Linked DNA regions of Homo sapiens: region 1 is linked to region 2. Evidence: promoter capture Hi-C in 16 types of primary human blood cells and fetal thymus (Javierre and others, 2016). All regions are on one chromosome and are shown on one strand. The core of a region is centred on a gene start or on the middle of the fragment in contact, and the rest is flanking DNA. Distances in the headings are between cores, read along the strand shown.

Region 1 (5,617 bases), core at 2,274-4,773, 200 kb before region 2:
GAAAATTATAGAACAACACTCGTCATGAATGTAAATGCTAAAATTGTTTAAATAACAACAAATTAGATCCAGTAATGTACAAAAAGGATTATACACTATTACCAAGTGTGGTCGATTTATTACAGGAATGTTCTTTAGCTTAACATCTGAGTATCAATTCATGTAATACATATATTAATAGAATAAATCAGTGGTCAGCAAACTATAGCCAAAAGCAAACTATAGCCCTTGGGCCAAATCTGGCATGACATTTGTTTTTGCAAATAAAGTTTACTGAAACAAAGCCAAGCCCATTCATTTGCATATTGTCTATGATTGCTTTCTGCTACAAAGCAGAGTTGATTGGTTGCAACAGAGCTCATATGGCTCACAAAACCAAAAATATTTACTATATAGCCTTTTCTGGAAAATGTTGCTGACCCTTAAAGGAAAAAGCCATATAATCATCTCAATAGACACAGACAAAGCATTTGATAAAATTGAACTACTATTCATGGTAGAATTCTCAATAAACTAGGAATAGAAGGAAACTTTCTTACTTTGATAAAAGGCAGCTACATAAACCTATGACTAACAACATGCTTAAAGGTGAATGACTGGATGCTTTCTTCCTAAGACTGGGTGCAAGGCAAAAGGATGTACACTCTCACCACTTCTATTTAACCTTGGACTAAAAGTTCCAGCCAGTGCAATAAGGTAAGAAAATAAAAATACAAAAATCAACATACAACCAACTGCAAAGGAAATTTTAAAAAATTACATTCACAAATAGCATAAAAAGAATAAAGGATTTAGAAATAAAGTTAATGAAAGAAGTACAGGACAGTACACTGAAAATTATAAAACATTGTCAAAGGAAATTAAGACCTAAATAAATGGAGATATGTCCCATGTTTGCAAATAGGAAAATACAGTATCATCAAGGTGTCAGTTTTCCCAAAATTGATCCATAGATTCAATATAATTTCTATCTAAATACCATTAGGGTTTGCTTTAAAAGAAATTGATATGATGAACCTAAAATTTATCTTTTAAATCCAAAGGACCAAGAAAAGCCAATATGATTTAATGAAAGAACAAAGTTCAAGGACTTACATGATTTCAAAATTTCAAAATTTACCATAAAGCTAGAGTAATCAAGACTGTGGTACTGGCATAAAAATATGTATATAGCTTGGCACGGTGACTCATGCCTATAATCCAGCCTGGGTAACAGAGTAAGAACCCCATTTGTAACAAAAGAAAAAAAAAGAGATACTGTAAACCAAAAATAAAATTCTAAATTCCCCAACCAATGAAATGGACCCCTCCTTTTGGCCAAGGGTATATTTTTTATATTTTATTATTTTATTTTATATTTTATTTTATTTTACTTTACTTTATTTTATTTTATTTTATTTTATATTTTTGAGACAGAGTCTCACTCTGTTGCCCAGGCTGGAGTGCACTGGTGCAGTCTCAGCTCACTGCAACCTCTGCTTCCTGAACTCAAGCAATTCTCCAGCCTCGGCCTCCCGAGTAGCTAGGACTACAGGCACAGGCCATCACACCTGGCTAATTTTTGTATTGTTTTGTAGAGACGAGATTTTGCCACGTTGCCCATGTCGGTCTAAAATTCTTGGACTCAAGCAATACTTTTGCCTCAGCCTTCCAAAGTGCTGGGAATGCAGGCATGAACAACTGCACCAGGCTAGGGCATTTTAAAGTAAACCTAAAACACTAGCTCAGGCTACAATGGGAATGGGTGGTCAGACATGCCTCATTAAACATTCCTCCCGTTGGAATTCAGGCACAGCTGACCAGCATTAACATAGAAACAGCGACTTTCAGACTGACAGAATAGACTTTTTAGGTCTGATATTCTCTGAAGCCTACTATCTGGAGGCTTTATCTGCATAATAAGAACCTTGGTATCCACAACCCCATATCTTAACCCAGACACTCCCTTCTGTTGATTCTAGGTCTTTAGATAAGTCTTTCAACCAATTGCCATTCAGAAAATCTTTGAATCCACCTGTGATCTGGAAGCCCTGATTTGAGTTGTCACACCTCTCTGGACTGAAGCTATGTACATCTTACAGTATTGAATGATGTCCTATGTCTCCCTAAAATGTATAAAAGCAAGCTGTAGCCTGACCACCTTGGTGACATGTTGTCAGGACTTCTTGAGGCTGTGTCACGGGGATGTCCTTAACCTTGGCAAAATAAACTTCTAAATTGATTAAGGCTTGCCTCAGATACTTTTGGTTTATAGTACATAGATGGAAGGAATGGAAGGAACAGAACAGAGAGTTCAGAAATACACCCATGCATCTATTGTCAATTACATTTTGATAACTGAAATCAGAATATGAACTGAAACCTTGCACAAAATTAACACTAACTTTCTTATTGGACCCCACCACTTACCCAAAGTTAGCCTTTGAGTTGGGGGTTTCCACAGTATAGTGGGACCATTCCATGGTCACCAGAAAGACGTTACAGGATCCTAGCACTTACTGGGAATATCTGCACTATAGGCTCATCTGGGTCACCAGAAAGATGTTACAGGAAAGGGGTCCAGGTCCAGAACCCAAGAGAAGGTTCTTGGATCTCACACAAGAAAGAATTCAGGATGAGTCCACAGAGTAAAGTGAAAGCACGTTTAAGAAAGTAAAGCAATAAAAGAATGGCTACTCCATAGACAGAGTGCTGGTTGCCCATTTTTATGGTTAGTACTTGATGATATGCTAAACAAGGGGTGAATTATTCATGCATCCCTTTTTAGACCATATAGGGTAATGTCCTGATGTTGCCATGGCATCTGTAAACTATCATGGCACTGGTGGGAGTGTAGCAGTGAGGATGATAAGAAGTGACTCTTGTCACCATCTAGGTTTTGGTGGGTTTTAGCCAGCTTCTTTACTGCAACCTGTTTTATCTGCAAGCTGTTTATGACCTGTATTTTATGCCAGCCTCCTATCTCATCCTGTGACTTAGAATGCCTTAACTGTCTGGGAATGCAGCCTAGTAGGTTTCAGCCTCGTTTTACACAGCTTCTACTCAAAATGGAGTTGCTCTGGTTCACACGCCTGACATTACCCCCTCCCTTTTATAATCCTAAAGGTTTGTATAATTTTAATCCTAAGGGTTGCAGAGGGTTGAAAATCCATCTTCTGTAACTTCTTCATGCTGAATAGGAGCAATGATATTCTTGCTTAACTATGAGAGTCTCTTGTATTCAGGGTAGAGAGGAGCTCAGTCAGAAAGCATCAGTATGGCGAGGGCAATTCATAACTCCGAGTTTTGACAAAAGGTGATATCTGGAAGATTCATAAGTGTGCTCAGAATTAGAATACTGATTTAGATTTTTACATTACCCATCCCTCTTGTTTCTTCTGAGCAGCAGTCAGATGTCACTAGTTGGTTCAGAGGAATAAGCAGGGTTAGCCTAAATTGCAGAAACAAACTTAAAAACAACTGATGAGACTAGAATTTAATAACAAGTGTACCACAGTTTCTGAAACATAATTTCTCTCTCCAGTTTCCCATTTTTACTAAAGACAAATCACGGTAAGACTGATTTGCTTTACTATAATTGGCCTGATTAGTTGTATAAAGTGCAATGAGAATAATTATTTTTTACATAACCACTTTTTAAATTGGTTTTGATGCAACTTTATTCCATAGAAAGAATCTCAGATAAGACTTTTTCAGAGCTGAGCCCTGCCATAGGTTTGTACCCTCAAATACCTATGAGATGAGTAAATTCCCCTCCTCTTGGGGTCCCAAGATAACCTGGGGATCCTGGACCTGTAGAAAGTGACATTCTTTACTTACCACAGGTCAGAAACCCTGTACAGGGGCTGTTGTAGACAAGGTCTGAGGCCAATTCCCCAAGGGGCTTTTATTGGCTTTACAAGTCAAGTTTGATTCCTTAAAGGAAAACGTGCCATTCCAGTCAAAGCGTTGGTAAAATAACCACTGTTTCCAATTGTGTCCTGTTGCAAAAGAAAAGAGGTTCTTATTGCACTTATGCAAATAACTATATTGCCATAATGTAAGAATACTCACAAATAGTTTCCACATTCTGGAGAAATTAGGTAGAGAGAACTAAATATGCTTCAAATGTTATTCACAGCAATATACTTTACTCAATTGCTACAAGCTGCAAATAGCTCAAAAGATAAGTTTCCTTGACTCTGAAAAACAAAACAAAGGATCAGCAGCATTTTAAGCAAAGTTAAAATGATTACTTTAGTCTTCTATTAGTTCAGTCAATGCAGTTAACTTCTGTTCTGCTTGATATTCCTGAACATTTCAGCTCTCCATGAGTATTCTGAAAGTGTTTTCCTTTATTTTAATATCACAATTTCCAAAGTTATCAGAAATCTGCATTTAAGAACACCTGTTAGAGTTCTACAGTTGATTATAAACCAACTTTTGAAGAGGATTAAAAGACAACAATTGTGTGTGGATGACAAAAAGTCTTAGGACAGCCACTATTAAAGTCTCAATTGATAAGGAAATTTGCTTCCTTCTGTGGTATACAATGATTTTATGTAACAATTATAATTATTCACAATATACACCAAGTCATATCAGAATTATAAGACTTTTAAAAATAATTTTCAATATATACCAATAATACATTTATACAATTACAGCCCCCAAAAATCCAAACACCATTTTACATTTGATAATGCTTCCTGTGTGGTTTTTGTACCAAATAAGCCAAATGTGACTCTTGCATTAGTGCATTATTGATGACAAACCCAATTCTTTATAAAACCTTATAGACAAATGTATTCAATCTTAATCAGTTTGACTATAAGGTAAGATTCTCACAAACCTTTTATAACCCTTTACATATTTTTGTTAAAGAGCAAATCATAGCAGGTTTTTGCTCTAAAAAAACTTGTGCTTTTATTCCAATGTTTAATTTATAGAAAAACTGAATACCCCTTTAACTTTAACTAATATATTCACACACAGAATGTCCTACAATTAATTTTTCACACTTTCCAAAACTTTCTTAAACCTTCAGCTTCATTCTATCTAACTTAAAACAATAATTTAACCATTTAATCTAAGGAAGAAAATTTACATTCTCATGACTTCTAATGATCTTTTACCAAAAACACATTTCACTTTCCTTACACACCTTATGTGTAGAACTATTCTTCAGTAGTCTCAATTACATGTTACAATGTTAACTTTCAGCGATTTTTACTTTTGGTGAAAACCCTGGTTGGTAAGCATTTTAATTATGTACTAGGTGTGCAGCCTAGGACACAGACAGAAGTGCAGATAAGGTCTGACTTTTTCTAGCATTGCTTGGGGTATGGCTAACATCACATGTCCCCAGGCCTTATCTAGACTCTAATATGGTCAAAGTAGGTAAATTAAACAATTTTCAAAAGTGAAAGCAGCAGCTTATGAACTTAAAGCATTTAGCAAACCTAATATCTGACCTGCATAATTTAGACCAAATGTTTACATTTTAAGATATTTTTATTTTACCAATAATCTTTAAAACTGTCTTCATTTCCCAAAGATTACTTAAGTCACATGAACTATATAAAAGGCATTATATGTTTAATTTTTCTCACAAAAATATGACTGAAGCACTTATTAT
Region 2 (6,483 bases), core at 767-3,266:
TGTTGCCCCCTAAAATAGGACATACTCTCTGCAGTTCCCCAAGAGTCTTATCTGGCTCCTTTCAGTAATTTCTAGCACGTGCTTGGCCTTTGTAGGCATCTGAGTTTGTTACCTCTGGAGGTAGCCTTTTTCAAGCTGTGTGTCACCAAGGCCCAGGTCCCTATGCCAAGGATGTAAGCCTCAACCAAGTATTTCTCCCACCAACCTAGAACTCCCAGGCAGTGCCTGGAAGGGCCCCAAAGTCCATGGTCAAGCAACTCTGGCTCTGGCACATCTGCAGGGCAGAGTGGCATCTTGGTGGAACAGACTAAAGGCAATGTTGACCTTTCTTCCACGACACAGACCCATGAATAACAGAGCTTGAAGAGCCCTTAGAAAGCAGTCTAAATTCTTATTTTTTCTGGGGAAACTGAGGCCCTGAGAAAGGGAAGAGCTTGCTTAAGTCACCCCAACATCTGGTGAAAGATCTGGATCCAGCACCCACTGGGGCACATCCATGTGTCTTTTGCAGTGTGATATCTCTCTTTCCAAAACTCGTGTCACAATCAAGGGAAGATGAGACAAGAGGCATCTCAGTCCCTAATCAGACTTGTTCTGCACTGCTCATTCCTGTTTCTCCAGCTCAGGCTTCCTTGCCCAAGAGCTGAATCTGGGGAGTTCCCTGAGCCCAGGAAATGAGCCAGAACCTGGGAGAACATGGGCTAGGGGAGGTGACTCCTGAGAGGAAGACCAAACTCATCCCCACGCCCTTCCCCTGCTCCCTGAAGGTGCACCTCTAGCAGATGGAGCCAACGAACCCTCTGTGGATGGACTTGGCTGTCACAGTAAAGCCCGCAACACCCAAGGGCTGAGCATCCTCCATTGAGTCAAGTTCTCCCACTGCAGTGAAAAGTAAAAGACAGAGGGCTGATGGCCAAAGTAATCCAATTCTGAGCATGGGCCAGATGATTCCTGTTATCTCTTCCAGAATATGCTAGGACTGGGGAACACATTCTGGCCTAGAGAAAAGGTGAGGCTGAAAATGCCTGCCTTGTTCAGGAAACCAAAGTCAGACACCTAACAGGCTGGCTTTGAAAGCTTCACTGTAGAAGGGAAGAGGTTAGAGAAACAGGGACATGCCACAGCCTGCAGTTCCAAGACAAGGTAGGAAAGTGGAGCCACACCAAGGAAGGAGTTGAGGTTTTACTGTCCACCAGCCTTGGATCTATATTCCATTTCCTCACTGTATTACCTTGAGCAAATTATTAGCTGCTCAGAGCCTCAGTTTCTGGATCTTTAGAGTGGGGATAGCAAGATAGTAAAATAATAATACCTACCTACCTTCTAGAGTTGTTTTAAGGATTCAGTGAGATAATGCGGGTAAAGGGCCTAGTCCACTACCTGCTTTATGGTCAGAACGCAATAGGAAGTCAGGGGTCTTTCTTTACCCCTTCCTGTGGTTCTTTTTCTTTTCCAAAGACAAGACCGTCCTGTGATGGTCCTCCCATTGACCCAGAGAGAAAGCCCAAACTGCGCAGGTACTAAAACCTGAAGCAACTACACATTAAAAACACAGAATCCTCCCCCCGCCCCCACCACCTCTCAGGGTGTCTGCTGTCGTCAAAATGCCTGCCCCCCACTAACCCCCCATCTCAACCCAGGGGACATACTTTCCTTCCCTGACTCCTCTCAGCCATCCCAGCTGCGAAGATGAAAGTGAAGTCTCAGCCAGAACCCAGATCTTCAAAGCTGGGTGGGAGCCACCTCGTGCTGGCCCTGCCCCTCCCCAGCTTTGGCCCCCCTGGGAGGAGAGGATGCGAGGGAGAGCGGTGGCAAGGAGGGGAGGGCGCGAAGCGCGGAGCCCGCCTGGTCCCCAGCCCTGCCGTACGCACCGTTCTCGCAGCTGGTGTTGCTGACCCGCAGCTCCATGGGGCCCGGGGCACACGAACCGACGCGCGGGCGGACGGCGCCCGGGCTCCCCAGCTCCGGAGCAGGTGGCCGCGACTTGTCCCCCGCGTGGCTCGCGCGCGAGAAGCCGCCGGGGTCCGGACCCAGGGGTGGGGAGAGTGACGCGTCCCAGAGTGGGAGAGTCCCCGGGGAGGAGTCACCCGGCATCTTGGGCAATTCCGGGGGCAGGGGGCCCAGGGCTGGGGCCGCCCGCAGAGGGGCGCATGCCTTCCTGGGGTGAGGACGCTGCCAGGCTCCCAGCTCTGGAGTCACCGCCCCGTGCTAGGGGCAAGAGGTGAGGAGGCGGGTTCCCCGGCACCGCTCCTCCGATGCCTGCACCGGCACCCAGCTCCATCCCCAGGGAAAGAGTACAGGGGACCTAGATGGCTGGAGAAGGGGCAACTTTCCTGCCGAGGTGGAAGTGGCAACATAGGGGTTGGAAGTGGGTACTGCTGCCAATTGGGAACCTGGGTTCCTTCTTTTCCTTCCTTCTCGCCCTCCTACCCTCCCCCTCTCCTTCCTCCCCTCCACCTTTCCTCCCTTCCTTCCATTTCACCCTCCTGCCCTTCCTCCCTGCCTTCTGCCCTGCGACCTCCTTTCCTTGCCTTACCCGTTCATTGATTCAACCCAGGTCTGATCTGTGCTGGTAGGTAACAGGTACATAGTGAGTTAATGCTCAATATATATTTATGTCTAATGAATAGATAATAGGAGCTTGGTAAATTAAATGAAAGAAGGAAATGAAGTGATTGGAGACCAAAATGAGTCAGACTATTCCCTGTCCCCCAAGTACCTTATATTTTAATGGGGGAAACAAAATGTGATCATCTCTTAGAGACCAATGTTTTTGAAATTACCACTTTAAAATTATTTATACACACACACACATACACACGTTGTGATGGAAAGCATATTTGTTACTATGGGTAACAGTAAAAAGCAAGTTAGAAAACCACTGACCTGGAGCATAAAAATAGGTATGTAGAGTTTGCTATAGGCCAGGCAGAGTTCTAAGTGCTGAAAAATTCCAGTTCATTTAATCTTCATGACCGCCTTATAATGTACAGACTTTTATTATTTACCAAAAGGAAACTGAGGCACAAAGTGCTCAAGTAACTTGCTGGGGATCTCAGCTGAGAAGCAGAAAAGCCAGGATCAAACTCGTGCTGTCAGTGGTCACATTAAGCCGCCTGGCATTTTACACTGAAATAAACTGCTCCTGGGCAGTGAGGGTGTGGGGCTACTGAGAAAGCAGTGATTGGTTCTGCCAGTGGTGCTCACCGGCTTCCTGGAGGAGGCAGCTTTTAAGAATTGTTATGTATGGAGTCGTCAGCATGGGCCAGACACTGTGCTAACCCCTTTCCAGGCACTGTCTCATCGAAGCCTCCTAGGAGACAGATATCCTTACTCTTTCCATGCTACAGATAAGAGGAAACTGTTATTTTTAAAAATTTTATCATGAGATAATTTTAGACTTATAGAAGAGTTACGAAAATAGTATAGAGAGTTCCCATATACCTGTCACCAGCTTCCCTTAATGTTAACATCTTGTATAGGAATAGAAAAAACTGTCCTTTAAATACTCTGAGACACTTGCTCCCAAGGTTGCACAGCTAGTGAACGAGGGTGCCAGGTGTAAACCGAGCTGCTCTGACCCCAAGCCTGTCCTCCTACCTACGACCCTCCACTGTCTACTTGCGGACCTCTAGCTGGGCCTCTAAGGATGGGTTCTCCCAGCATGGGGCTTCCTCTAATTTGCTGGATGACTTTAAACAAGTTGCTTACTCTACATAAGGATCAATTTCTTTGTCAAATGCAACAGCCCCTTCTCCAAGGGGTCGGGATCGGGTTGGGGAAGGGAGAGGTTAAAAGAGAAAGGGAAATGTGAGACACAGCAAATGTAACAAGCCACGTTTGCTCATTTTACTTGCTGCATAATTTCACAAGCCCTTGATTCTGTAATGATGTGCACCTCTCTGGAAAAATGCTTTGAAAACAAAGCAGGATACAGCACAAGGCCCCCACAACTTTTGCCTGAGACACTATATTTCTTAAAAGATAAATGACCCTAGACCTTGCCTATTCCTACACATAGGATAATGTTTGACAAGGTTAGTGACTATGCCTCTATCATCTATAACCAGATATACTCTTGCACCCAGACTTTCATGTGATTCTGCTTTACTGTAACTTCTGAGCAAGTTTGATGTAATGTTTGAGCACATACTGCACTTCTGCTACGTGTATATCAGCTATGAGCTAAAACACTGTTTCAGAGCAGTGGGACAGGACCTCTCTGAAAGACTCCTCCCAGACTTTGTCTTCAGTCTCTAGTCCTCAGTAAGACTTCTGCTTTTTTTTTTTTTTTTTTTTTTGAGACAGAGTCTCACTCTGTTGCCCAGGCTGGAGTGCAGTGGCTCGACCTCGGCTCACTGCAAGCTCCGCCTCCCATGTTCAAGCGATTCTCCCACCTCAGCTTCCGGAGTAGCTGGGATTACAGGCGCCCACCACCACGCCCAGCTAATTTTTGTATTTTTAGTAGAGACAGTGTTTCACCATGTTAGCCAGGCTGATCTCAAACTCCTGACTTCAGGTGTTCCACCTGCCCCGGCCTCCCAAAATGCTGGGATTACAGAACCTCAGTAAGACTTCTGAATAAAACTAACTTTAATTCCTTAAAAGCTTGATTTTCTTTTAGTTGACAGAAGTCATAGCCATTGCCAACAGAATATATCCAAGTCTGCAGGTGAGTGTGCCCAGGCCCGCCTCTAACTTTGGAGGTGTGTGGTACCACCGTTCAGGTAGAGGGGAACACCTCCAAGACTATATGAATTTGAACACAGAGCAGCAAGACACTAGATGATTGGCCCTATTCGGAAGTGAGACTTCATGATGAAAAAATATATGCATCCATGCTACCTGCAAGGGAGAATTTGACAAGAGAATTCAACTTATCTTTCTCTTCTCTAAGCATTTCTGCTGTTCAGCTCCTCCTTGTGCTATAAAACGGAGTCAGCACTGAACCTGGAGTGGTACAGTCCTCAAACCCTCACTGCATTCAAACTTGACTGCTTTTATTCCAAGAACATAGGGTGAGAGATTCGGAGTATTTCCCTCTGGTCTGACCTTTTTTCTTCCTCGCTTTATTGAAGTATGACTGACAAATGAAAGTTATATATATTTAAAATGTACAACATAATGATTTGATATAGGTGTACATCGTGAATGATAACGACGATTAAGCTAATTAATACATCTATCACCTCACTTAGTTATATTGTGCGTGTGTGTGCATACATGCGTGTATGTTGAGAACACTTTAAATAGTGGCTTCTCTTAGTGGCCTTTTTGAATCACAAGAGAGGATGTTTCAGATTGTAGTTGCCAGAGCTAAGCCCAGATCCTGAGAGACAGATGCACATATATGTTCTTTAATGCATTTATTTTTGTATGTGTTTGTGATTTGTGGAACCTCTAAATTTTAGGGTCAGGGAAGGGGCCTCCTTGTCAGGGGTTAAGGGCAATATTGAGTTTATCCTATGCTTCAAGACCGGCCTTTTCAGAGTCAGGAGAATCTCATGTTTTAGGGCAGTGGCATGAGGGGAAGGAGGCTAGGATCCACTGCAGGGACTTTCACAACCTCACTGGGCCTCAGGCTCCCCATCTGTTCTAAAAGGGGGCTGGGCCTCAACAGGGCTGGCATCAGAGCATCTTGCCAGTGTAGACATAAAGGGCCCCATTGAACTGCAGTCTTCTCGGCTGCTTCCTGACAAAGCCCTTTTCTCCTCTAGCCACAATGGCCCTGTCAGGCAGGTAGCAGGGCCTGCAGCTTTGTCTCCCCAGAAAAGAACAACAGGGTTCACTGTCTGTTCCAGGCTCAGTCTCCCTGAGGAGGGTGGGTGGCTTACGAAGGGTCTAACAAGCCAGGGACAGATGGGTTCTGCCCTTAGCCAGCCAGCGACTGGTGACCCAGCCGCAGCTCTTTCGGTCAGTTATTCTGGGATGAGTAGGAAAACAAATTCACCAAAACCCAAGTTTTTAAAAACTTGACTTTTCCAAGTGCATGTCCAGATGTTTTAGGTTACAGAGCTGTGCCGTCCAATATGGCAGCTACCAGCTGCATGTGGCTTTTGAGAACTTGATGAGCCGCTAATCTGAATCGTGATGTGCTATAAGTAGAAAACAGGCTCAGTTAGCATTTTGGACTAGATCGTTCTTTGTTGCTGGAGGCTGTCCTGTGCTCGTAGAATGTTTAGCAGCACCCCTGGCCTCTACCCTCTGGATGCCAGCGGCACACACACCCCTGCACCCCGACACCCACCCCAGTTTTGACAATCAAAAACACCCCCAGACAATTGCCAAAATCACTCTGGGTTGAGAACCACTCAGATTTCAAAAACTTAGTAAGGAAAAAAAAGGAAAATCTCATTAATGATTTTTAAATATTGATTACATGTTAAAATGATAATATTTTGGATGCATTGGGCTAAGTAAAAACATTATTAAATTATTTTTCCTATTCTTTTCACTCTTTATAAAGTGGCTACTAAACTGTTT

The links. The method cuts DNA at HindIII sites, captures the fragments that hold promoters and counts their contacts. A CHiCAGO score of 5 or more calls a contact.
Region 1: a fragment that was not itself captured here is called in contact with the fragment with the promoter of NIPAL4 in region 2 in 1 of 17 cell types (activated CD4 T cells); the score reaches 6.8 in activated CD4 T cells.

What each region holds. Positions count from the first base shown.
Region 1 is chr5:157,656,214-157,661,830 of GRCh38, reverse strand. LOC105377675 (a long non-coding RNA gene) reads right to left here. Exons shown (of 3, transcript XR_941127.3): 2 at 3,820-3,980; 3 at 1-3,302. It also overlaps a transcript of SOX30 not described here. Among named protein-coding and RNA genes, the nearest start is that of SOX30, 6.6 kb to the right of the region's middle. The HindIII fragment of the contact is 8,214 bases long and covers 1-5,617 here.
Region 2 is chr5:157,455,746-157,462,228 of GRCh38, reverse strand. It overlaps NIPAL4 (NIPA like domain containing 4), which reads right to left and starts at 2,016. Exons shown (of 6, transcript NM_001099287.2): 1 at 1,872-2,016. The coding sequence starts at 1,908. NIPAL4-DT (NIPAL4 divergent transcript) reads left to right here and starts at 2,129. Exons shown (of 3, transcript NR_136205.1): 1 at 2,129-2,221. RefSeq lists a silencer at 1,963-2,122. The HindIII fragment of the contact is 3,531 bases long and covers 1,080-4,610 here.